Regions from separate parts of the Homo sapiens genome. Here regions 2, 3 and 4 are each linked to region 1. Evidence: promoter capture Hi-C in human tissues and cell types (Jung and others, 2019). All regions are on one chromosome and are shown on one strand. Each heading gives the region's core, a stretch centred on a gene start or on the middle of the fragment in contact. The rest is flanking DNA. Distances are from core to core; before and after follow the strand shown.

Region 1 (3,637 bases), core at 782-3,281:
AAGCTCTTGTGATTTTATTTGTAAGCCTTTATTATTATTATTTGAGACGGAGTCTTGCTCTGTCACCCAGACTAGAGTGCAGTGGCGAGATCTCGGCTTACTGCAACCTCCGCCTCCCGGGTTCAAGTGATTCTCCTGCCTCAGCCTCCCAAGTAGCTGGGATTACAGGTGCCCACCACCGTGCCTGGCTAATTTTTGTATTTTTTTAGTAGAGACGGGGTTTCACCATCTTGGCCAGGCTGGTCTTGAACTCCTGACCTCGTGATCCACCTGCCTTGGCCTCCCAAAAGTGCTGGGATTACAGACATGAGCCAGTGCGCCCCACCTGTAAGCCTTTATTTAGATAGTTTCTCTCCACTTTTTACCACTTGGCATTCTTCAAGTTCTTGTTCTCACCTCTTTTCAGGAAGGAGAGGCCATCCTTCCTCCCAAACATTCTCTTCCCTTCATTTGTCTGGGTAGGCGACAAGAAAACACGATCCATGGCTCCTGCTCACACAGGGGCATCGGGCTCGTTAACTGTCAAGAACGCTGCCAAACTTGTTTCAGCACGAAGCGTAGAAAAAAAAGACAAGAACTGGATGATATTAAGTTGTCTGTCCAGGCTCACTTCCTCAATTCAAAGCTGCGCCCGAGGCAGTGTTTCTCAGGTTCCCTTCCTCTGCAAGACTCCATTCGAGTCAGACAAGACTGGAGAGTTGTTAGATGCCTCGAAGGCCAGATGGTTCTCTCAGTCCAATTCTCCTTTGTATCACCCTCACCTGGAAGGAATCCTGCCTCCCTGTGAGGAAATCTAACAACAGGGACTAAGGCTGCCAGGGATTGAGTTAAACTCAGGCGCTGGGGAAGGTGGAGGGGAGAGGCAAGGGGTGTGAGGCTGACGAGGAGGAAGGGTGTCTGTCCTCAGATCTTCTGGCTTTCATAAAACATAATGGAGGCTAAGTGGGGGCGGGAAAAGTTTTGATGGCACAGGCCGGGCTGGAGGGGAGATGCCTGGCACCTCCCTCCCACTACCTCCTGAAGGCGCTTCTGGCCGACAGGGGAGGCGGACCCGACCACAGCACTCCCGGCCAATCAGGAAGGCGCCTGGCGTTCCCTGGCGACCATTAACGCCCAGCCGTCCGCGGGGTTGGAGGAGGCGGGGCGGCTAGAGCACGAGCCCCATCGGCCAACCGCCGGGCTTCCTGGGGCGGAGAAGCTGTGCCTCTGGGAGCCGGGGCGGGGCTGTCTCCTTGGCAACTATCCTAGCCCTCGAGGAGGGAGGAGGGAGGAGGAGGATCAGGGGAGCCGAGCTGGGTGGGGGCCGGAGGAACGGGAGCGGGCGCGCGCAGGTGCCGGGGAGCGGAGTTCCTGGAGGGGGTCCCAGGCTCAAGGACCTCGGCGAGGCCAAGGGGAGTCCGTCCCGGTTCCCGAGGCGCTGCCGGAGCTGACCCGGAGGCCCGGGAGGGGAGGGAGCGAGACACCGCCCCCGCTGGCGCCGGGAAGCGTCGCTCCTTCTCGCTGACCTTGGTCTCGCTTGTCGCCTCGCCCTTGGCCACACGCACCGACGACGCGGGGCCCGGGAGATGGACAGACGGGCCTCTGGAGGGACGGAGACCTAGAACATAGGCACACACACTGCCCCGGTAGCCCCGCGGGCTCCGGGGCGTCCGGTCCTCACCCACCCCGTGGCCGGGCCCCTCCAGCCCAGGGTTAATGCCAACGAGTTTCCACCTCCAGCGGCTCCTAGAGAGGCCGCGGCGCGAGCCGGCGGGGGGACCTGGCCGCGGACGGACACTTCCTGTGCGGGGGAGGGTGGGGGGGTGCTGGGCGGCCGTTGGACAGTGCAGCCCAGCCCGGGGCCGGGGTCCAGAAGGTGGGGGCTCGGGCGGGAGCGGGGGCCGGGGGCCGCCGGGGTAGTCGCGAAGCCCCTCATCCCCGAGGCCGCGACGCGCGGGGGCCAGTGAGGGCCACGGGGAGGCCGAGACCTTGGGAGGGGGCGGGGCCGCGGGCAGGGGAGGGGCCCGGCGCGCTGGAGAGGCGCGGGGTCAAGACGTCCGGCCTCGGGGGCCCGGGCTGGGCCGCCGAGTCCCCTGGGCGGCGCTGAGCGGGCGGGAGGCGGGGGCCCGCGGCTCGGGGCAACCGAGGCCGGGTCGCGGGATCGGCCGCCATCGCCGCCGCCGCTGCACTGGGAGCCCGCGGGGATGGAGCGGGAGGCGTTGCCGTGGGGCCTCGAGCCCCAGGATGTGCAGAGTTCTGACGAAATGAGGAGCCCCGAAGGGTACCTCAGAGGTGAGGAGGGAGCGCCCGTCCGAGGAGTGGACTTGCGCGCAGGAGAAGGGGCTGTGGCTCCAGGGAGGGAGCGAGGGCCCGGGGCTGGGACACCTGGGACTCGAAGGAGGGGCCGGCGGGGACTGGGGTGTCTTGGGTCAGCTGAGGGGGGCGTGGGAATTTCAGCACTTGTCTAGGGGCCAGCGACCCTGCATGTGAGGTGGGAGGTGTGTGGTTGCTAATGGACCAAATGACCTTCCAGGTCTCACACGATCTGGATTCTCTCATCCTGCAGGCAACATGAGTGAGAATGAGGAAGAGGAAATTTCTCAGCAAGAAGGCAGTGGGGACTATGAAGTCGAAGAGATACCATTTGGGCTTGAACCCCAGAGCCCTGGGTTTGAGCCACAAAGCCCAGAGTTTGAACCCCAAAGCCCCAGATTTGAGCCTGAAAGCCCGGGGTTTGAGTCCCGAAGCCCTGGGCTTGTGCCCCCAAGCCCTGAGTTTGCACCCAGAAGCCCTGAATCAGATTCTCAGAGCCCTGAGTTTGAATCCCAGAGCCCTAGGTATGAACCCCAAAGCCCTGGCTATGAACCTCGGAGCCCCGGGTATGAACCCCGGAGCCCTGGCTATGAATCTGAGAGCTCTAGATATGAATCCCAGAACACTGAGCTCAAAACCCAAAGCCCAGAATTTGAAGCTCAAAGTTCCAAATTCCAGGAAGGTGCGGAGATGCTTCTGAACCCCGAGGAAAAGAGTCCTTTGAATATCTCCGTAGGAGTTCACCCCCTGGACTCCTTCACTCAGGGGTTTGGGGAGCAGCCCACAGGGGACCTGCCCATAGGGCCACCTTTTGAGATGCCCACAGGGGCCCTGCTGTCTACACCGCAGTTTGAGATGCTTCAGAATCCCCTGGGTCTCACAGGAGCCCTTCGAGGTCCAGGTCGGCGGGGTGGCCGGGCCAGGGGTGGGCAGGGCCCTCGGCCTAACATCTGTGGCATCTGCGGGAAGAGCTTCGGGCGGGGCTCCACCCTGATCCAGCACCAGCGCATCCACACCGGTGAGAAGCCCTACAAATGTGAGGTCTGCAGCAAGGCCTTCTCCCAGAGCTCTGACCTCATCAAACACCAGCGCACCCACACTGGCGAGCGGCCCTACAAATGTCCCCGTTGCGGCAAGGCCTTCGCCGACAGCTCTTACCTGCTTCGCCACCAGCGCACTCACTCTGGCCAGAAGCCCTACAAGTGCCCACATTGTGGCAAGGCCTTCGGCGACAGCTCCTACCTCCTGCGACACCAGCGCACCCACAGCCACGAGCGGCCCTACAGCTGCACCGAGTGCGGCAAGTGCTATAGCCAGAACTCGTCCCTGCGCAGCCATCAGAGGG
Region 2 (3,637 bases), core at 436-2,935, 160 kb after region 1:
CTCCCGGGTTCAAGCGATTCTCATGCCTCAGCTTCGCGAATAGCTGGGATTTCAAGCACGTGCCACCATGCCTGGCTAATTTTTGTATTTATAGTAGAGACAGGGTTTTACCATGTTGTCCAGGCTGGTCTCAAACTCCTGACCTCAAGTCATCCGCCTGCCTCGGCCTCCCAAAGTGCTGGGATTACAGGTGGGAGCCACCATGCCCGGCCTATTTTATTATTTTATTTTTATTTTTTGTAGAGACAGAATCTCGTTATGTTGCCCAGGCTGGCCTTGAACTCCTGGCCTCAAGTGATCCTCTTGCCTCTGCTTCCCAAAGTGCTGGGATTACAGGCATGAGCTACCATGCCTGGCCCTCTAGGGTATTTTATTTTATGGATAGTAAGGTATTACTTAATGGGCACTTCGCTGTGTGTTATTTCGTATAAACCCCTTCGGGTAGATATTGTTACTTTCTCCACCTTACAGATGAGGAAATTGGGCTTAGCAAAATTAAGTGATTTGCCCAAGGTCACACAATGAATAAATGGTAAAGCTAGGACGTGGATCCAGATCTAATGCAAAATGTGGCTTTAAAATACTCCATACTCTCTCCCCAGATTTGGATGTGTCAGAAGTGAGATTTAAATATGACCTCTGAATAGAGATCCATCAGGGAAGGAAGCCCTTTCAGTGTGCCTTGGGATGCCCAAGTGGCCAGACATCCTGATGTTTGGCAGCTCACAGACTATCCAGTTTCTCGTTTGAGCTTGGGGAGGTGGCTTGCCTCAGTTCCCCCTGCAATGCAGGTTTTACACTATTGCTACTGACCCCTTCCGTGCTCCCCCGACCCTGCAGAGAGAGCTCCATTCCCGTGGACGTGGCTCGGCAGCGGGAGCTCAAATGGCTGGACATGTTCAGTAACTGGGATAAGTGGCTGTCACGGCGATTCCAGAAGGTTTGAGGGCTGAATGGTGGGCAGGGCAATGCACAAGTTGGGAGGGGTAGCATGTGCTCCAGGGAAGCCCAGGAAGCCGATAATATCTGCCCTCTGGACCACACTGGGGATAGATGGGCCCTGGCGGGGGAATGGCTTTAAAAATAGAAGTCCAGGCCAGGTCCAGTGGAATCAAGCCTATGGGATGTCGGAGGAGTATCCAGGGAGTTTGTGGACTGCTGGGGAAAGGTTGGAGGCTGTGCCAGCCCTTGAAGCTGTCCCCCTCCTGCCACTTTGCCTTAGGTGAAGCTGCGCTGCCGGAAGGGGATCCCCTCCTCTCTCAGAGCCAAAGCCTGGCAGTACCTGTCTAATAGCAAGGAACTTCTGGAGCAGAACCCAGGAAAGTTTGAGGTGCGTGCAGCTCCAAGGTGTGGGGACATGTGGCCCTGTCTGTGCAAGGGGTATCAGTTCCCCCAGATGCTGAGGTAATCCCCACTGTCCCACTGCAGGAGCTGGAACGGGCTCCTGGGGACCCCAAGTGGCTGGATGTGATTGAGAAGGACCTGCACCGCCAGTTCCCTTTCCACGAGATGTTTGCTGCTCGAGGGGGGCATGGGTAAGGTGGCCGGACCATGGGGGTCAGTCAGCAAACATTGGCTGGAGGATCCACCTTTTAGCTAGGTGGATACAAGACTGAGTCGAAAGTGGTTTTTGCCCTTCAGGACTTGTAGAAGAGCTATCTGTAATGGACTAAGTGTCAAGCCATGTCAAAGGAACTGTCCTGGGAAGGAGACTTGACTCAGGTTGTGTGTGGGGGCACGTCATGGGCTCCTTGAAGAGCTTGCATTTGGGCTGGGTTTTGGAGGGGTGGGAGCTACAGCAGTGGGGCAGGGTTTTCCTGCCTGGGGGTTATGGAAAAGATCACCAGGGACCCTTAAATGCTATGCCAAAGCATTTGGAATTTTGTTCTATAGACCAAGCTTCCTCCAGATGTCAGTATATACTCTTCTCTAGTAGTATGCAAGATGATCATCTTAGGGAGTTCTCTGATGGACTTTTTTTTGTTTTGTTTTTTGAGATGGAGTCTCCCTTTGTTGCCCAGGCTGGAGTGCAGTGGTGTGATCTCAGCCCACTGCAACCTCTGCCTCCCAGGTACAAGCAATTCTCATGCCTCAGCCTCCTGAGTAGCTGGGATTATAGGTGCACACCATCGTGCCCAGCTCATTTTTGTGTTTTTAGCAGAGACGGGGTTTCACTGTGTTGGCCAGACTGGTCTTGAACTCCCAACCTCAAGTGATCTGCCCGCCTTGACCTCCCAAAATGCTGGGATTACAGGTGTGAGCCACTGCGCCTGGCCAGATGGACTTTTTGTTCTTTCTTTTCTTTTTTTTTTTTTTTGAGATGGAGTTTTGCTCTTGTTGCCGAGGCAGGAGTACAGTGGCACGATCTTGGCTCACTGCAACCTCTGCCTCCTGGATTCAGGTGATTCTCCTGCCTCAGTCTCCCAAGTAGCTGGCATTACAGGTGCGCGCCACCACACCCGGCTAATTTTTGTATTTTTAGTAGAGACGGGGGTTTCACCATGTTAGCCAGGCTGGTCTCGAACTCCTGACCTTAGGTGATTCACCTGCCTTGGCCTCCCAAAGTGCTAGCGTTATAGGCGTGAGCCAACACGGTCAGCCGGACAATTTTTTAAATCAATAATTCATCCTTTAGCAAATATTTATTGAGCATCTGCTATCTACCAGGCACTGTCTAGTCACAAATGATTGCAGTGAACAAAAAACCAAAAACTCCTCTCATGGTGTTTATATTTTAGTGGGGACAAACAATAAATCAGGGAAAGGAAAGTATATTGTATGTGAAATGATGGTAAGCATTAAGGAGGAGGTTATTTTTATTTTTACTTTTATTTGTTTTTTGATAGAGATGGGTTTTCATCATGTTGCCCCGGCTGGTCTTGAACTCCTGGGCTCAAGCGATCCGCCTGCCTTAGCCTCCTTAAGTGCTGGGATTACAGGCGTGAGCCACTGTGCCTGGGCCTAAAGAGGAGTTTAAAGCAAGAGGGAAATAGAGAATGTGAGTGGGGATGGGGTTACAAATGACTTGATCCTGCTTATGTTTTAAAAGGGTCATTCTGGCTACCATGCTGAGAACAGACTATAGGGAGACAAGGACAGAAACGGACCAGTTAGGAGACTTCCTGTAATCCAGGAGAGGGTGAGAGCTAGACCAGCATGGTAGCAGCGGGAGTATGGGGAGAAGTGGTTGGATTCTGGATATATTTTGAAGGTCGAGTCAAAGGGATTTGCCAATGGATTAGACATGCAGTGTGAGAGGAGAGAGGGGAGTAGGGTTTTTGGCCTGAGAAATGAGAAGAATGGAGTTGCTGTTTACTAATACAGATGGGGTAAAGGTAGCTGTGGGGGGCATATCAGGAGCTCAGTTTTGGAACGTTTATTTTTTATTTTTGTTTTTTGAGACGGAGTCTCGCTCTGTCGCCCAGGCTGGAATGCAGTGGCGCCACCTCGGGTCACTGCAACCTCCACCTCCCAGGTTCAAGCAATTCTCCTGCCTCAGCCTCCTGAGTAGCTGGAATTACAGGCACCCGCCACCATGCCTAGCTAAGTTTTGTATTTTTATTAGAGACGGGGTTTTGCCATGTTGGCCAGGCTGGTCTCGAACTCCTGACCTCAAGTGATCTGCTCACCTCGGCCT
Region 3 (3,637 bases), core at 449-2,948, 140 kb before region 1:
AATTTTTTTTTTTTTTGGAAATGGAGTCTCGCTCTGTCGCCCAGGCTGGAGTGCAGTGGCGTTACCTCAGCTCACCGCAACCTCAACCTCCTGGGTTCAAGCAATTCTCCTGCTTCAGCCTCCTGAGTAGCTGGGACTACAGGCGCACGCTATCATGCTTGGCTAATTTTTGTATTTTTAGTGGAGACAGGGTTTCACCATGTTGGCCAGGATGGTCTACAATCTCCTGACCTCGTGATCCATCTGCCTCAACCTCCCAAAGTGCTGGGATTACAGGCGTGAGCCACCATGCCCAGCCAGAACCATAACATTTATATGCACCAGGAAATGAAAAAATTCATGTGCCTCGCTTTGTTGCAGTGACCTGTAGTAGCTAGAAAAATAACTGGAGGAATTTCCCCGAAAATTAACAGTGGTTGCCAGGTGCGGTGGCTCACGCCTGTAATCCCAGCACTTTGTGAGGCCAAGGCAGGCAGATCACCTGAGGTTGGGAGTTAGAGACCAGCCCGACCAACATAGAGAAACCCCATCTCTATTAAAAAAAAAAAAAAAAAAAAAAACAAAATTAGCCAGGCGTGGTGGCGCATGCCTGTAATCCCAGCTACTCGGGAGGCTGAGGCAGGAGAATCGCTTGAACCCGGGAGACAGAGGTTGCGGTGAGCCGAGATCGTGCCATTGCACTCCAGCTTGGGCAACAAGAGCGAAACTCCGTCTCAAAAAAACAAAACAAAACAAAACAAAGCAAAAAACTGGTTATCCTCAAGAGGTGGGATGATGGAGCACTTTCCCTCCGTGTTCTGTATTTGTGTGTTTGAATGGTTTTATAATGACTATGTATTACTCCACAAAAACCAGAAAAATTTTAAATTACAGATCTTTTTAAACATACTCTGCCTGTGCAGACATGTGCGAGAACACATAGAAAGGACCTGAAGAATATACACCTAATGATTTACAGCGGTTACCTGGGGGAAGGGGATGGGGCTTGGGAAGGTTGGCAGGTGAAGGAGAAATTTAATGTTTTGCTCAGTGTCTTACTGGGTTGCTTGAATCCTACATACTATGTATTCCTGGATTATAGAAAAACAGTGTGAAAAACTTCAGTGCCCAACCCTCGAACCCATCCCTCCAGAAATGGCAGACCAACTTGCCCAGTGGATGGCAGGGAGGAAAACCTTGGCGGGATACGGACAGTACTGTCCTCATCCCTCCCTTACCCCAGGACCCACACACCCCACCCTGGTCCAACCCACCCCACACACACTCAAAGAGGAGCCGGGGGTCTCATTGTAACACTCGTTTTTATATAAATATTCGCAAGTCATGTTACAGAAGAAGCCCCACCAGGGAAAAAAGTCAACGTTAGGGTTTTGTTAGATTGACCCCTGCCTTCTAGGTTGGGCCCCAGCCTGGAGGCGCCTGCTGCTTTGGGAAGGCTGGGGTTGCTGCCGTGAGGCTGCCGAAGAAGCTGCCTGTGTCGCCCACCCCTGGGCCGACCCCCTTCTTTGGTGTGTGGTACATGGTGACCTTCTCTGGCCACCCTTAGCCTGGGGCAGGGTTTTGGAGAACAGGGTTCAGGGAAGCAGGGCCCAGGAGTCCTGGGGGCACTTGGAAATGGGGTGAAGGGGACTGAGCCATTAAGAGGTGGTGGAGTCTGAGATTTAGAGGCTGAGCCTTTGGGGGTGGGGGCAGAGTGAACGGGAACATGTTGGGGGAACCGGGGCTGTCAGCCAAGTAGGAAGCTTCTGCCCTTCCCTCCAGCCCAGGTCCCCAGGTCCTGCCCCCTGTTGGTCATCTCCTGCTGGCCCCACCTTCCCAGGGAGAAGCCTGACTGTCCCTTCCCGGCTCTTCCCCCTGCAGTCCCCTTTCCCCACAGAGAGGCCAGAGGCTAGGAACACAGCACCAGTCTGAGGGTTTAATTAACCAGGAAGGGAACTGTTGGGAGGGGCACCCCTGTAAAAATGTACAAAAGGTCTTGGGGCTATGTGAAAGGGGTGATAAATATGTACATGGAACCCCCCTTCCTTGAGCCCCTCCTCCCCCAGCCCTCGGAGGGCATGAGGACTTGGGTGGTAGGTGAACGGGAGGGGGCACTTTGGCCTCTGGCTTAGTGAGCCCTTGGGGAGGCAGGCCCAGGGCCTAGAGGCCCTTACAGGGGCAAAGGTGTACCTCAGGAGGCCCCATGGCCCCCGAGATGAGCCACACTCCCATGCACACGCCCCTCTCCCTTCTCTAGAGGCTGTGACCTCTGCTCTCCCAGTGACCCTACACTCCATGTGATGCTTGGTCTTGTGGGGGTTGAGGCTTCTGTTCCCAGGTTCCATGACCTCAGAGGTGGCTGGTGAGGTTATGACCTTTGCCCTCCAGCCCTGGCTTAAAACCTCAGCCCTAGGACCTGGTTAAAGGAAGGGGAGATGGAGCTTTGCCCCGACCCCCCCCCGTTCCCCTCACCTGTCAGCCCGAGCTGGGCCAGGGCCCCTAGGTGGGGAACTGGGCCGGGGGGCGGGCACAAGCGGAGGTGGTGCCCCCAAAAGGGCTCCCGGTGGGGTCTTGCTGAGAAGGTGAGGGGTTCCCGGGGCCGCAGCAGGTGGTGGTGGAGGAGCCAAGCGGCTGTAGAGCAAGGGGTGAGCAGGTTCCAGACCGTAGAGGCGGGCAGCGGCCACGGCCCCGGGTCCAGTTAGCTCCTCACCCGCCTCATAGAAGCGGGGTGGCCTTGCCAGGCGTGGGGGTGCTGCCAACCAGGTTGGCTCCAGGAAGCCAGCACAGCGATCTGGTGGGCTAGGGCCCAGAAACGGGGGCGGCCGGGGCCTCTCAAACAGCAGGTGAAGGCCCTGGGGCCCAGTGGCTGCTGCGGCGGCGGCAGCGGCGGCGGCAGCAGCAGCGGCAGCGGCGGCGGCAGCCTCCTCCTTCCGCTCTTCCTTTACCCGCACAGATTCCTTGGTTGGCCGAGGCCCCTCCTCACCAGCCCGGGCCTTGGGAGTAGCAGGAGAAACTCGGAGCTGGGGCCGTGAGAAGGGGAGGTCCCTGGAGGGCAGGCGTGGGGAGAGAATGAAGTTCTCCAGGGGCAGCAGGGGCTGAGGGTGGGGCAGGGGCAGGGTGGGTGGGAGGCACACCTGTCCTTCTCCTCCTTGGTGATGGAGGGCTCCCTCCGCTCCACAGGCCGCTCCTTGTCTGAGCCTGGAGTCCGGGCGGCCTCAGGGGGCCGGACCCAGGCAGGAAAGGTCAGAGGACTGCGGTGCAGGCGGCCCCATGGGTCCGGTGGGGAGGCGAAGGCTGGTGGGGCCCCTGGGCTTTCTTTCTGGGCAAAGACGGCGCCGGAGTCTGGGCAGAGGGTGAAGCAGAGAGTGACAGGGGCCAGAAGTGGGAGGCCCTGTTCAGGCCTCCTCCCAGACCGTCTGAGCTCTCACCCTGTGGCCGCAGCCCCCCCACCCCACCGCACCCGCACTCACTGAATGTGGGGCTGCCCAGGCCTCCAAAGGCCCCGTTGGAGAGGGCAGCCAAAGAGGCGAAGCTTGTGGGACGCCCAAAGGGATCTGTGGGAGGAAAGGGGGGTGGTCAGAGCACTGGGCAGCCGGTGCTGAGCAGGCACCAGGCCTGGCTGGGCAGAGGCAGGACCGGTGCCTGGAGTCCTCAGCTG
Region 4 (3,637 bases), core at 779-3,278, 140 kb after region 1:
CTTGGCCCAATAGGATATGGAGTTGTCAGATGGTGTGACAGGTTCTATATTGACTGTATGGACAAAATTTTATAGGAGTGTAGCGCACAGAGATACCTTCTGTAGTGTTCAGTGGGTGCAGATACTGTCTTTAAAGCCATTTATGCAGAGTGTGGTTCTTGGCCTTTGTCACTTAATTGCTACTTGACTTTAGGGAAGTTACTTAAGCTTCTGTTTCCCAAACTGTAAAATAGGGATGATAACAGCTAACTTTGATGGTTGAGGATGAATATGTGTAAAGCACTTAGCAAAAGTATCAGCTATTACTCTAATTGGTTTGATTTCGGCAAAGTCCAGACTCTGCCTGGAGTGGGGGCTGAATGAACAACTCCAGGCAGTGGGGGCTGAATAAACAGTGGGCCACATACTAATTGAAAACCTAATATGGGCCAGGCATGGTGGCTCACGCCTGTAATCCCAACACCTCGGGAGGCTGAGGTGGGCAGGTCTCTTGAGTCCAGCAGTTTGAGACCAGCCTGGCCAACATGGTGAAAACCCATCTCTAAAAAGATACAGGGCCGGGGGCGGTGGCTCACTCCTGTAATCCCAGCACTTTGGGATGCCGATGTGGGTGGATCACGAGGTCAGAAGATTGAGACCATCCTGGCTAACACAGTGAAACCCCGTCTCTACTAAAAATACAAAAAAATTAGATGGGCGTGGTGGCAGGCGCCTGTAGTCCCAGATACTCAGGAGGCTGAAGCAGGAGAATGGCGTGAACCTGGGAGGCGGAGCTTCCAGTTAGCCGAGATCGCGCCACTGCGCTCCAGCCTGGGCGACAGAGCGATACGCCGCCTCAGGAAAAAATAAAATAAATAAAAAGATACAAAAAAGTTAGCTGGGAGTGGTGGTGCACACCTGTAGTCCCAGCTACTTGGGAGGCTGAGGTGAGAGGATCTCTTGGGCGCGGGAGGTGAAAGTTGCAGGGAGCTGAGATCATGCCACTGCACTCCAGCCTGGGTGACAGAGCAAGACCCTATCCCACCCCCACCCCCCCGCCAAAAAAAAAGGAGAAAGAAAAGGAAAGAGAAAGAAAACCTTAGGCTGGAATCAGTGGCTCACGCCTATAATCCCCACACTTTGGGAGGCTGAGGCAGGTGAATCACCTGAGGTCAGGAGTTCGAGACCAGTTTGGCCAACATGGTGAAACCCCATCTCTACTAAAAAATACAAAAATTAGCCAGATGTGGTGGTACGCGCCTGTAATCCCAGCTACTCGGGAGGCGGAGGCAGGAGAATCGCTTGAACTCGCGAGCCGGAGGTTGCAGTGAGCTGAGATCACACCACTGCATTCCGTTCTGGGCAACAGAACAAAACTCTGTTTAAAAAAAAAAAAAGAAAAGAAAAAGACTGCCAGGAGCAGTGGCTCACGCCTGTAATCCCAGCACTTTGGTAGGCTGAGGCGGGCGGATCATGAGGTCAGGGGTTGGAGACCAGCCTGACCAACATGGTGAAAACCTGTCTCTACTAAAAATAAAAAAATTAGCTGGAGGTGGTGGTGCTCACCTGTAATCCCAGCTACTCAGGAGGCTGAGGCAGGAGAATCATTTGAACCCGGGAGGCAGAGGTTTCAGTGAGCAGAGATCACTGCACTCCAGCCTGGGCGACAGAGTGAGACTCCGTCTCAAAAAATAAAAATAAAAGAAAACCTAATGTGTGCTAGAAGCTTGAGATCCAAAGATGACTATGGATTACGACCTATCTTCAGAGAGGAAAATAGAGAATAGTTCCGTTTTAATGTGCCGTGAGTTTACATATTAGGAAAGCAGTGAAAGATGAAGATAGAATGTAAGTTTATTCGGCCGGGCGCAGTGGCTCACGCCTCTAATCCCAGCACTTTGGGAGGTCAAGGTGGGCAGATCACGAGGTCAGGAGATCGAGACCATCCTGGCTAACACATTGAAACCCTGTCTCTGGCCAGGCGCGGTGGCTCACGCCTGTAATCCCAGCACTTTGGGAGGCTGAGGTGGGCAGATCACGAGGTCAGGAGATCGAGAGCATCCTGGCTAACACGGTGAAACCCCGTCTCTACTAAAAATATAAAAAAAAAATTAGCCAGGCGTGATGGCGGGCGCCTGTAGTCCCAGCTACTCAGGAGGCTGAGGCAGGATAATGGCATGAACCCAGGAGGCGGAGCTTGCAGTGAGCCGAGATCACACCACTGCACTCCAGCCTGGGCGACAGAGAAAACTCCATCTCAAAAAAAAAAAAAAAAAAAAAAAAAAAAAAAAAAAAAACCCGTCTCTACTAAAAATACAAAAAATTAGCTGGGCGTGGTGGCAGGTGCCTGTAGCCCCAGCTACTCGGGAGGCTGAGGCAGGAGAATCACGTGAACCCGGGAGGGGATGTTGCAGTGAGCCCAGATCGCACCACTGCACTCCATCCTGGGCGACAGAGCGAGACTCCGACTCAAAAAAAATAAATAAATAAAAATAAAAAAGAATGTAAGTTTATTCATTTGTTCCACAAACATTTCCTGGGTATCCATCAGGTACTGGGCATTTGTGCTGGGAAATAGAAGAGGGTATAAATGGTCAGCATGCCTGCCATATTCATTTGCAGAGCTGCCTAACTCTGACTTTGAGAGGACAAATCCTATAGTTATTAGATCTGAACTTGAATTAATGTCTAAAGATATAGAAGTCCCTCAAGGGATGCAAGGGGTGGGGAAGAGGTAACTGTGAAGACATGATGGCAAGATGAAGAAGAACTAATACGGGCTGGGCATAGTGGCTTACACCTGGAATCCTAGTGCTTTGGGAGGCCAAGGCAGGAGAATCATTTGAGGTCAGGAGTTTGGGACCAGCCTGGCCAACATAGTGACCCCATCTCTAAAAAGAAAAAAGAATTAGCCAGGGATGGTGTTGCAAAGCTATAGTCCCAGCTACTTGGGAGGCAGAAGTGAGCCCAGGTGTTCAAGACTGCAATAACCTATGATCGCACTACTACATTCCAGCCTGGGCAACAGAACAAGACCCTGTTTCTAAAAAAAAAAAAAAAAAAAAAAAAAAAAAAAAAAAAACTAATCCAAATGACTAAATAATTACTAAATGGGAAGAGAGCTGTCCACCACACACTGCCCTATATGAAACTCAAGGTACTGCCTTCCTTTGTCAAAGCAAACAAGCCCCAAATATCATATGAATGATTCGCCATAATTAGTTGGAATTAATAAGCATGGAAATGGACTATGGTGTCACTGTTAATTCATATAAACTCTACATTTAACACAATGACCAAGCAAGAGCCTTTTTTTTTTTTTTTTTGAGACAGAGTCTCACTCTGTTGCCCAGGCTGGAGTGCAGTGGCACGATCTCGGCTCACCACAACCTCTGCCTCCCAGGTTCAAGCAATTCTTCTGCCTCAGCCTCCCAAGTAGCTGGGATTACAGGCGCGCACCACCATGCCCAGCTAATTTTTGTATTATTATTATTTTTTTTTTTTTTTTGAGATGGAGTCTCGCTCTGTTGCCTAGGCTGGAGTGCAGTAGCACAATCTCGGCTCACTGCAAGCTACACCTCCCGGGTTCACGCCATTCTCCTGCCTCAGCCTCCCGAGTAGCTGGGACTACAGGGCCCACTACCACGCCCAGCTAATT

What was found. Contacts are between HindIII fragments. The study calls those that stand out against the background at their distance.
Region 2: a fragment that was not itself captured here is called in contact with the fragment with the promoter of ZNF768 in region 1 in 2 of the 25 tissues and cell types used here (bladder and mesenchymal stem cells).
Region 3: a contact is called between a fragment that was not itself captured here and the fragment with the promoter of ZNF768 in region 1, in 2 of the 25 tissues and cell types used here (adrenal gland and mesenchymal stem cells).
Region 4: a contact is called between a fragment that was not itself captured here and the fragment with the promoter of ZNF768 in region 1, in 1 of the 25 tissues and cell types used here (dorsolateral prefrontal cortex).

The regions. Positions count from the first base shown.
Region 1 is chr16:30,524,960-30,528,596 of GRCh38, reverse strand. It overlaps ZNF768 (zinc finger protein 768), which reads left to right and starts at 2,031. Exons shown (of 2, transcript NM_024671.4): 1 at 2,031-2,271; 2 at 2,546-3,637. The coding sequence starts at 2,184. RefSeq lists enhancers at 646-945, 2,526-2,585 and silencers at 1,016-1,845, 1,936-2,255, 2,276-2,325. The HindIII fragment of the contact is 23,531 bases long and covers 1-3,637 here.
Region 2 is chr16:30,362,798-30,366,434 of GRCh38, reverse strand. TBC1D10B (TBC1 domain family member 10B) reads left to right here. Exons shown (of 9, transcript NM_015527.4): 2 at 841-940; 3 at 1,223-1,330; 4 at 1,429-1,535. Among named protein-coding and RNA genes, the nearest start is that of TBC1D10B, 5.9 kb to the left of the region's middle. The HindIII fragment of the contact is 4,833 bases long and covers 1-3,637 here.
Region 3 is chr16:30,668,456-30,672,092 of GRCh38, reverse strand. It overlaps FBRS (fibrosin), which reads right to left. Exons shown (of 18, transcript NM_001105079.3): 16 at 3,450-3,533; 17 at 3,114-3,321; 18 at 1,283-3,024. The coding sequence ends at 2,448. Among named protein-coding and RNA genes, the nearest start is that of FBRS, 12 kb to the right of the region's middle. RefSeq lists a silencer at 1,664-1,857. The HindIII fragment of the contact is 4,874 bases long and covers 1-3,637 here.
Region 4 is chr16:30,389,241-30,392,877 of GRCh38, reverse strand. It overlaps a transcript of ZNF48 not described here. Among named protein-coding and RNA genes, the nearest start is that of ZNF48, 4.4 kb to the left of the region's middle. The HindIII fragment of the contact is 2,143 bases long and covers 957-3,099 here.